2 separate regions of the Homo sapiens genome follow, and region 1 is linked to region 2. The links are contacts of gene promoters, found by promoter capture Hi-C in blood cells and fetal thymus (Javierre and others, 2016). All regions are on one chromosome and are shown on one strand. The core of a region is centred on a gene start or on the middle of the fragment in contact, and the rest is flanking DNA. Distances in the headings are between cores, read along the strand shown.

Region 1 (4,407 bases), core at 1,194-3,693, 110 kb after region 2:
TGACCCTTTGCTCCTCGGGATCTTGTGCCCTGTTCTTCATGCCTACGTCTCTTGAGTTAGAGAAGGAGCATCACTCAGCCTCTTCTCTCAAGTGAACCAAAGCACGTTGGAAGGTCCCACTTCCTGCTTTAAAGGTCCCTCCCTATTTGATTCCCTAAAGAAACCCGTGTTCAGTACCCCACCCACTCTTTGCCCATCCACTTCACCTTGTCAGTGTGACCCAGAGCCGGTCCGGGTTGCACCCTGGGAAAATGCCACCCGGTGCTGAGGTGTGTTCATCTGCCTGGAAGCCCTTCCAAGCATGCAGGCACTTCTTGATGCTCCAGTAATTCTGTGATTAGAATACCTGTGCAAACAGGAGAGAAGACAGGCTCCAGCTCTGTCCTAGGCATCCAGGGAATGCTTCTCTGGGAAATGAGATGGAACCTTCTGCCTGTACCAATGCATGGTCACTAGCTCTCTATAAGTGCTTCCAGCAATGACTTTCTGGAGGGCAAATAACATCTCCTGTTTTTCTTTATTATTCTAATATACGTGGTACTTTTCCTGTACATCTTAGCCTAGGCCTTTAGAAACAGCCAGGTTGTATCAGTACAAAGAGTTCATGGGCAAGCCACGAGCAGATCTAAGCTCACGGTCCTCAAAGTCCACTGGGAGTTTGGTGATCTATCTGTTGTGTCCTTCTCCCTATGTAAAAAAGGCTAGGAAGGGGAAAAAAGACAGTGAATTGAATATTATAGAAACATTCTCTCTTGAGCTTCTTCCTTCTCTACTTTTTAGATCTCTTGTCCTGATGGGCTGGCTGCCCTGTGAGAAAGCAACAAGGCACTTCCAGGGGGATTTCCAAAGAAAGCTTTTTCACTGGCCCCAGCTATCTGGAAGGTTTATTCAAGTTGGATACACTTCAAAGGACTCACAGAGCAGGCTCAGAAATGTACCCAAAGTCTAGATGCTTATCCAAACTGCCTGAAGCCTTCAAACCGGCTGTCAAATCTCTGCAGAGCTGGTATTTCTAGCACATTTCTGAAAACTCCCTTCTCTAGTTGGGTCCCAAATACCAGGAGACCAGCCTATTGATGGCTTTTCAGAACCTTTGCCCTATTTTTTTTTTTCCTGCCAGGAGCAAAGGTGTGCTGGTGGCCAGAAGAATGAAATCAGACTCCTGAGCATGCCCGAGTGTCTCATGTGATGTTTTTAGATAAAGGAGGCGCTGATTCTTTTTTCATCCCTCCCCAGCTATTCTCAGTTAACCCTGGTTCTAACATAAAACATTAAAAAGCAAAGGCATCATTTTTGTACTGAAGTAGCAGCCAGGTTTTGGACAGTGGAAGAGGACAGATGTTAAAGCACTCCCATTGGAAGGCCAGCTTCCTCTTTCAGCCTAGTCTGCCGAGTACTAGCTGATGATAGGCCTTCTCATGAGGAGCATGTTGGCGCTGGCAGAAAGAAAGAGACGCAAGGACCAGCTGTGGAATTGAGCAGGTTGGCTTTGAAGGCCAGAGGGGAAAAACTGCTATGAGGAAACATCCAACTCATCCCCTTTAAGGGTCACCAGGGAATTGATCCTTATAGAGTAAATGATGCCTTCTTCACTTTTCTTCCTGAGTCAAATTCATGCTACTCTTAAGGGATTCTACGACAGGCTAGGTTTAAGCTTTCATGATTTGAATGCATGTCTCCCCGGAGTTTGAAATTGCTGTATTTTCTTGGACCATGAAGAACCAGATGGAAAGCTGAATTTTATAGTCTCTTCTGTTACTGTGGTCAGCAAGAAATCCATGGATCTTGCTCATCAGTTCAGGAGCTGGGTAAGCTGAAGAGAAAGCAAGGAGGGGCATGTGTCGTCCATTCCTCTTAGGCAGCTTTTGCACGTTCCAACCCCATTATCCTTCTGTCTTCATTTCTTAACCTACTCCAGGCTTTCCAGGCAGCACACAGATCATTCAGATTGGAAAAGTCTAACTTGATGAGTCCATTCCTCTTCCTACTTTGTCCCAGGGACTGTACTAGGCTCTGGGGATCCCAAGGCAAACTAGACAGATATGGTCCCTGCTCCCACAGCATCCACAGGGAGAGCAGACAGTTAAACAAGCACCTACAATAAAGTGGGATGATAGGGCAGTGCCAGGTACAGGGGAGTGCACAGCTGGGGAACCTAACCATGTCTAGACGAAGAGATGGATTCAGGCAGAGGGAACAGCACGTGCCAAGGCCCAGAAATGACTGGTTGCAGCAGGCTGAGTGACGGGAGACAGGACAGTGTGATTGGATTTTGGAGCATGAGCAGGGAAGACAGTTGGAAGCCACTGGTGGGTTTCTCACAAAGGTGTGTCAAGTCAGGTTTGCCGAGTGGGGAGTTCGCTGATGGCAGTGTGAAGGATGGGACTGGAGGGTCCTTAATTTGAGAAACCCTCTGCTCAATAAGATGGAGAAAAGGCTGCTGTGTATTTATTCTGCAGAGAAAAATCTAAACTTTGATGCTTCTGGAATTTAAATCTTCATTTTTTGTCATAATATTTTCCTCTGTCACTCAAATTCAACAGAATCTAATTAGACTCTTTCTTCATCTGGGGTCTGTTAACCCCTTTACAAGACTAGTTTTTTTTTTTTTTGGAGGTGGGGGGACAGAGTCTCACTCTGTCACTCAGGCTGGAGTGCAGTGGTGCGATCTTGGCTCACTCAACCTCCACCTCCAGGGTTCGAGTGATTCTCCTGCCTCAGCCTCCGGAGTAGCTGGGACTACAGGCACAAGCCACCATGCCCAGCTAATTTTTGTATTTTTAGTAGAGACAGAGTTTCACCATGTTGGTTAGGCTGGTCTTGAACTCCTGACCTCAGGTGATCTGCCTGCCTCGGCCTCCCAAAGTGCTGGGATTATAGATGTGAGCCACCGTGCCCGGCCATGGATATTTTTTTTTTTTTTTTTTTGGTGCTGGAGATCCCAAAGGACTAGATCTTTTTTGTGGCTGTCCTGAACAGTTTATGGGAATAGACGATGTCAACGTACTCTACTTATGATCCCATAATGGAAGGGGAGTGTGGCCAAATTGCCACGTCTGCTGTTCTCATTCCTCTGTTGCTTCTGTGGAAAGTTGCAAATCATCCTCTGATCCACAGCATCCAACTGGAATTTAAATTTCAGAACTGGATCTAGTTGGAATCAAAGAGAATTAATTCCATAATAATTAGGTGGGTGTTGGTATTCCTTCTCAGTAAGCCTTACAGAAGCTTGGTGCGAGCCAAGTGGCTCCTGGGAGGCTGTGTCTCTAGGGGAGGCAATATTTTCCAGTGGATGGGCTTTTCATTACCAAGCTCTGCCTCACCCCTAATGGGTCAACCGCAGGGCTTCCACGAACTCAGGAAAGTGCTCTGTGTTCTAAAAAAAGTCTGGAATCCATGCTTTCCCCTTGGGCTACAAGTGAAACAATAACAGGAACTTCTCCACCCACCTCTGTCTGCCTCAGGTAGATGAGGTTTTGGAAGTGAGTTGATTGTTTTTCAGTCTTAGGAAGATCCTGATCTCTCTTTTATCCAGCCCCCTCCAAAACAAACATACCTGGGCCTGTGTGGGTCCTCAGAGGCACAGCCCTGGCTGTTGGCTTTGGCACGTTCCTGACTCCCTAAGAGAAGATGTGGATGCTCCATCCACGAAATAGCACAGACCTCCCACAGATAGTTCTCCTAAGCCCTTTGCTGGGCATAGGGGAATGGGGGCAAATAATTCTCATAGGAGTTGGATTCTCATCACCTAGAACAGAGCCTGGCAAGAGGTGGGAACCCAATGGGATCATATGTTTGTGGAATAAATGAGTGTGTGTCACATGACTCCAGTTTGCAGGCCAGCTTGTCACTGTTCTCTCTCCAGGCAAATACCCACTTGACCTTCAACCTTCTTCCCTTCTGAAGTTTTGCAGCTCAATTCCACCAATATTTTTTGAACTGGGGGGTTAGGAAGGTAAAGAAGACACAATCTACTAACTATTAAATACTGAGTAGTTAAAAAAAATGCAGACCTGGGATCAAGTCCTACTTCTCCATTTATCTTTTTTTTTTTTTTTTTTTTTCCCCAGACAGAGTCTCTCTGTTGCCCAGGCTGGAGTGCAGTGGTGCAAACACAGCTCATTGCAGCCTTGACCTCCTGGGCTCAAGCAATCCTCCCACCTTGGCCTCTGGAGTGGCTGGGACTCCAGACACATGCCACCATGCCTGGCTAATTTTTTAAAACTATTTTTTGTAGCGATAGGGTCTCACTATGTTGTCCAGGCTGGTTTCGAACTCCTAGGCTTAAGCGGTCCTCCTCCCTGCCTCCCAAAGTGTTGGGATTATAGGCGCGAGTCACTGCGCCTGGGCTCCATTTATCTTTTTGATAACAGGAAGGTCACTTAACCTCTCTGAGCCTCAGCTCCT
Region 2 (4,426 bases), core at 203-2,702:
CTGCCTCATAAGGCCTCATAAATTCTCTTAAGGTGACAGGTGAGATTCCTTCATCGTCCCTTATTACCTCCTTCCATTAAAGTTGATAATCTCTCACAATCACTCACAACAAATGTCACCGAGGCTGCTGGAGGTGGGAGGGACAGAAGGAGGGAAAAGAGGGCGGTTCTATGCCTCTTCCTGGTACTGCCCCTGGGAAGAGGTAGGCTTTTCTCTTCTTGCCCCATCTTGAGGGTGCCACAACTTAAGGGGCATCAGTGGAGAGGTGGGGTTGGTATTTGCTGAAATGAGGACTTCTTTGCACTGAAAATTTGGCCCTTCCTGGCTAGTGAACCTTCAAAAAGTATGGTCCTGAAACCATCCCACCCTCATCGCAAAGCTGAAACCATCCCACCCTTATTGCAAAGCTGCCCCCTGCTGGTTTCTCCTCTGACCAAAGCCATGGGATTAACCTACTTGTGTTGGCTGCAATGGTGCGTCCCTGGTCGGCCTACCTTACTGATGGCAACATGCCCAGGCCACAAACTGCCTGACCAGAGCCCTGAACCATGGGCATCTCCCTGTGTACCGCCTGAACCATGAGGGCTCAGGCCCCACCCAACTGTTTCTGGGCTTAGTGCCAAGATGGGGAAGGGGTGGGTCTGTACATCTCTGCTGCTTCTACACAAACAGATGCAACATGGGGGCGCCCCTGGCACAGGGAAAGGCACTTGTGGGAATAGACAGGGACTCAGGAAAACATGTAACACACTGCACACGTGTAGCATCCCCGTGCCTAAGGACGTGCAACATTGCAGTTTACAGTATGCATCAAACATGTCACATTGCAGTATACATATGTGGCTGCTACATGAGTTACCCACAGTCCTCAGCACACATGTGGCACCTGTAAGCTTGCATACATATAACATCCCTGCGCACAGGAACAAGCAACATGCATTCAGGACTTGGGCACATGTTAATACACCGTGCATGTGTGTGGCACTTGCATGCACCTACCCAGGCAACATGGCAGTGCACACTTAGGGCACCTGTATGCATATGCAAAGTTCAGCGCACATGACTGGCACCTGCATGCACAGGGACATGCAATATGCAATGCACATGGGAAGGTGAGCAAATGCTTCAGCCTGCAGGGCCCGGGACACCCTGGCGGCGCGACAAGCCTCCGGCATGGGTATAGCTGGAGGGGCGTCGCGGATCGCCTCATTCTGCGGTCCAAGAAGCAGCGGGCTGGGCGGGGGCTTACCCAGGGCTTCTCCCGCGCCGGCGCCTGGGGCCCAAGGCGGGGAGGTGGGGGGCACGATCGGCTCGGCTGGCGCTGTTCCCCCTTTAACAGGAGGCGGCGCGCGTCGCCCCCGCCCCTTCTCCCGCGGCTCCTCGCGCCCGGCCCGGCGCGCGCCCCCTCCCGGGCCCGGCCCGCGCAGGCGCCGCGTCCCGCCTCGGCCGTCACTCGGCCCGGCGCGCGCTGCGGGCAGCGGCCGGAGCGGCCGGAGGAACCGGGTTCGGCGGCAGCGGCGGCGGCGCTCAGAGACCGAAGAGGATGCGGCACCGGCTCTCAGAGCCCGGGGCTGCGGCCGCCGCCCGCAAATAGGAGGCGGCGCGCGGCGCGGGCGGTGCTCGGGGCGGGGGAGCGGGGGAGCGGGGGGCGGCGCGGCAAGGAGGCGGCGGCGGCGGCGGCGGCAGGAGCCCGCGCCCGGCCCGGCGCCGCCCGCCCGCCCGCCCCGCGCTGCTCCGCGGCGCCTTTTCTGCACCCGCCGCCCGGGAGAGCGGGAGCCTCGGCCCTCCGCGCGGCTGCAGCTACCTACCCTGCGCCCGGCCCGGTCCCCGACTTAGGGATGGCAAACTTGCGCCCCGTGGCCGCCCCCGCCAGCGCCGGCCCCCGCTCCTGCTGCTGACGGCGCCCAGGTGAGTGCTCGGCCCCAGACCCCGACCTGGCCTCGCACCGAGCCCTGCCGGCGCGGTCCCGAGTTTCCGCACCGGCCCGGACTCGGGGCGCTCTCCTAACCCGTCTCTGCTGAATTCTCCCCCAGCCCGAACTGAGTTCGTTCAGCGTTCGCCCACCCCCATCTTCTGGGGAACTCCCAAACCTAGGGCCGAGGCCCCCTTAATCGCTGGTGAATCTCTAATCTCGGCCCCCCCCCTCCCCCAGCCTGGACCGACCCTCTTACCCATCTATGCTAAAGTCTCCCCCTCCAGAATTCTGACACAGACCGTGCTTGCTGTCTCGAGTCTTTCCCTATCTCGGCCTGGATCCGGGCAGTGTGCCCCCCACCTTTATTAGAGCCCCCCCATTAACCTGCAGCTCAACTGTGTCTCCCCCTCTATTTCCCGTCACGGTCTGAATGCCGGACCCTGCTCCTCTCCTCCACTTCATCACTGCCCGGAGTCTTTCCTGTCCCCATCCATGTCTGCCCATAGTTTCTACCCTCCCCCGCGCCTGTACCCCGACCATGCTTCTTCTCTATTTCTGCCCCTAGCGCCCCCTCCCCCATATCTATCTGACCGGAGTCCCGCCTTCCCTCGCCAATCTTGCTGCAAGTCCCCTCCCCTCAGCTTGGAATTGGGGCCGTGTCCCCCGTGTCTGCTCCGCGCCCCCTCCCCTCCAGCTGAGATCCCGACTGGACCCGCATCCCTGACTCCCGTGTCCATCTTTGGCCGGAGTCTATCTGTCCATCCCCCATCCCTATCCTCCCACCCCTGGTCATAGAGCTGGGCACCAGACGCACCCTCCCGCAGCCCCAGGGCCGGCATGATCCGGAGGGGGTTGTAGGCTGTGAAGTTGGCGGCCACTCCCGCAGTCAGCTTGGTCCGAGGGCACAGCCGGGGGAAGTCCTCCGCGCCGCGGCCCGTGCAGAGCAGGCGACGGGTCTGTTGCCCGCCGGGGGGAGGGGCGCCCGGGCCGAGAGATGCCGCCTGCCTGCCCGCCTCGCCAGCTGCCGGCCGGGCTCCTGGGCGTCCTCTGGCGCCCCCTGCCCGAAGCCTGGGACCCGCCACCCCTTCTCCCGCGGGCAACCCCGGGTTTCCGCAGCCAGAGCATCAGCGGTGGCTGCAGGACTGACGCTGGGAAATCCCTGGGGAGAGGAGATTGGTGGGCCAGGCCAGGTGCCTCCTCGTGCTAGCCATGCCCAAACACTCCTGGTTGTCAGGCCATATGTTCTGGGGGTGGGATGGGTTGGGGTGGGGTGGAGGGCTCACCCCAGCAGCAAGTCAAGAGTCCTTTGAGCCTTCACGTACAGACCAGCAGGATTGGCCGCGGGCTCCAGGACGCCTGGTTGGGCTTGTTTGTGCTTGGTCAGGTGTTGCCAGAGAGCCTCTACCCCATGGCATTTCCCATGAGGTGAGGGCTGGGGGCAAAGGTGGGCTCTGCCTGGCTTGCGCATGGAGTCGGTTGTGGGGGAATCCACCTGACCCTGGGACAGAGCAAGCACCTGGGGAGTATCCTCTGCACTGCTACTGGGGTGAGGGGCAGTGTGGACTCTGCGCAGGATATGTCCTGGTGATGGTAGTGGGGAGGTTAGGGAGGGTCTTCTCTGGACCAAGATTGAGAGAAGAGATCTTCCCCTCTTCTTCCCTCTCTCCTCCTTCCGCTCTCTCTTCTGCCCCCTTTCTGTATCACTCTTCAAAAGGACATGTCTAGTCTGGGGTGTGCGTGCGTGGTCTGCATTTCTGTAACACAAAGTGAGGTTCCATCTGGTATCTGCCCCCATCCCTCCCTCCCTTCCCACCCCCAAGTAATGAAGCTGAGTAAGTAGTTAGGAATTCAGCTTTCGGTCAGACGACCTACGTTCAAAAGCTGTGTGACATGGGCAAGCTACTTAATCTTTCTGAGCCTCAGTTGACCCTCTATAAAATGGGTCAGTGATCACTGCCTCATATAGCTGTTGGGAGAATGAAGTTAGGTTGTTTGTATAGAGTGTCTGGCACCTAGCAATGCTCAATATTGATAGGGGTGTGGGGCTGTTTCTGTTCAAGGCCAAGGTCAGGCCCCTCTCCACTCCACTCCTAATCCCAAAGGAGAAAAATGAAAAACAGGTTCCAGTGCCTTCACTCCAACCCCCAGTATAATAAAGACAGAAACACCTTTAGCCCCCAGTCTCCACTTTTCCCCCAAAGTATGGGTGCAGGGGGAGCCAGTGACTGTCAGTTTCCCTCATCTCCTCCTTGGTCCTGCAACTTCCCACTATATTTCTCTGGGATCAGCTCTGGCCAGAGGGATGTTAGTGAAAGCCAGGCCATGGTCTCTGGGGTCTTGGTTCAAGTGTAGAGGCTGCAGAGGTGGGAGAAGTACAGAGAAGAAACCCCAGTCAGAGTCCCCGAAGGCAGGCAGCCTGTTAGGGGGAGCCCAGGTGGGAAATCACTCAGCCACAGAAGAGCCTCTACTGACCCCAGGAGGTCAGACACCATCAGGAATTTCCCAGGGCCC

The links. The method cuts DNA at HindIII sites, captures the fragments that hold promoters and counts their contacts. A CHiCAGO score of 5 or more calls a contact.
Region 1: a contact is called between a fragment that was not itself captured here and the fragment with the promoter of ADGRB2 in region 2, in 1 of 17 cell types (endothelial precursors). The highest score is 6.3, in endothelial precursors.

The regions. Positions count from the first base shown.
Region 1 is chr1:31,647,788-31,652,194 of GRCh38, reverse strand. It overlaps PEF1-AS1 (PEF1 and COL16A1 antisense RNA 1), which reads right to left. Exons shown (of 6, transcript NR_184313.1): 3 at 207-346. Among named protein-coding and RNA genes, the nearest start is that of PEF1, 5.1 kb to the right of the region's middle. The HindIII fragment of the contact is 1,574 bases long and covers 1,657-3,230 here.
Region 2 is chr1:31,761,366-31,765,791 of GRCh38, reverse strand. It overlaps ADGRB2 (adhesion G protein-coupled receptor B2), which reads left to right and starts at 1,452. Exons shown (of 33, transcript NM_001364857.2): 1 at 1,452-1,908. RefSeq lists a silencer at 2,770-3,039 and an enhancer at 2,981-3,834. The HindIII fragment of the contact is 4,434 bases long and covers 896-4,426 here.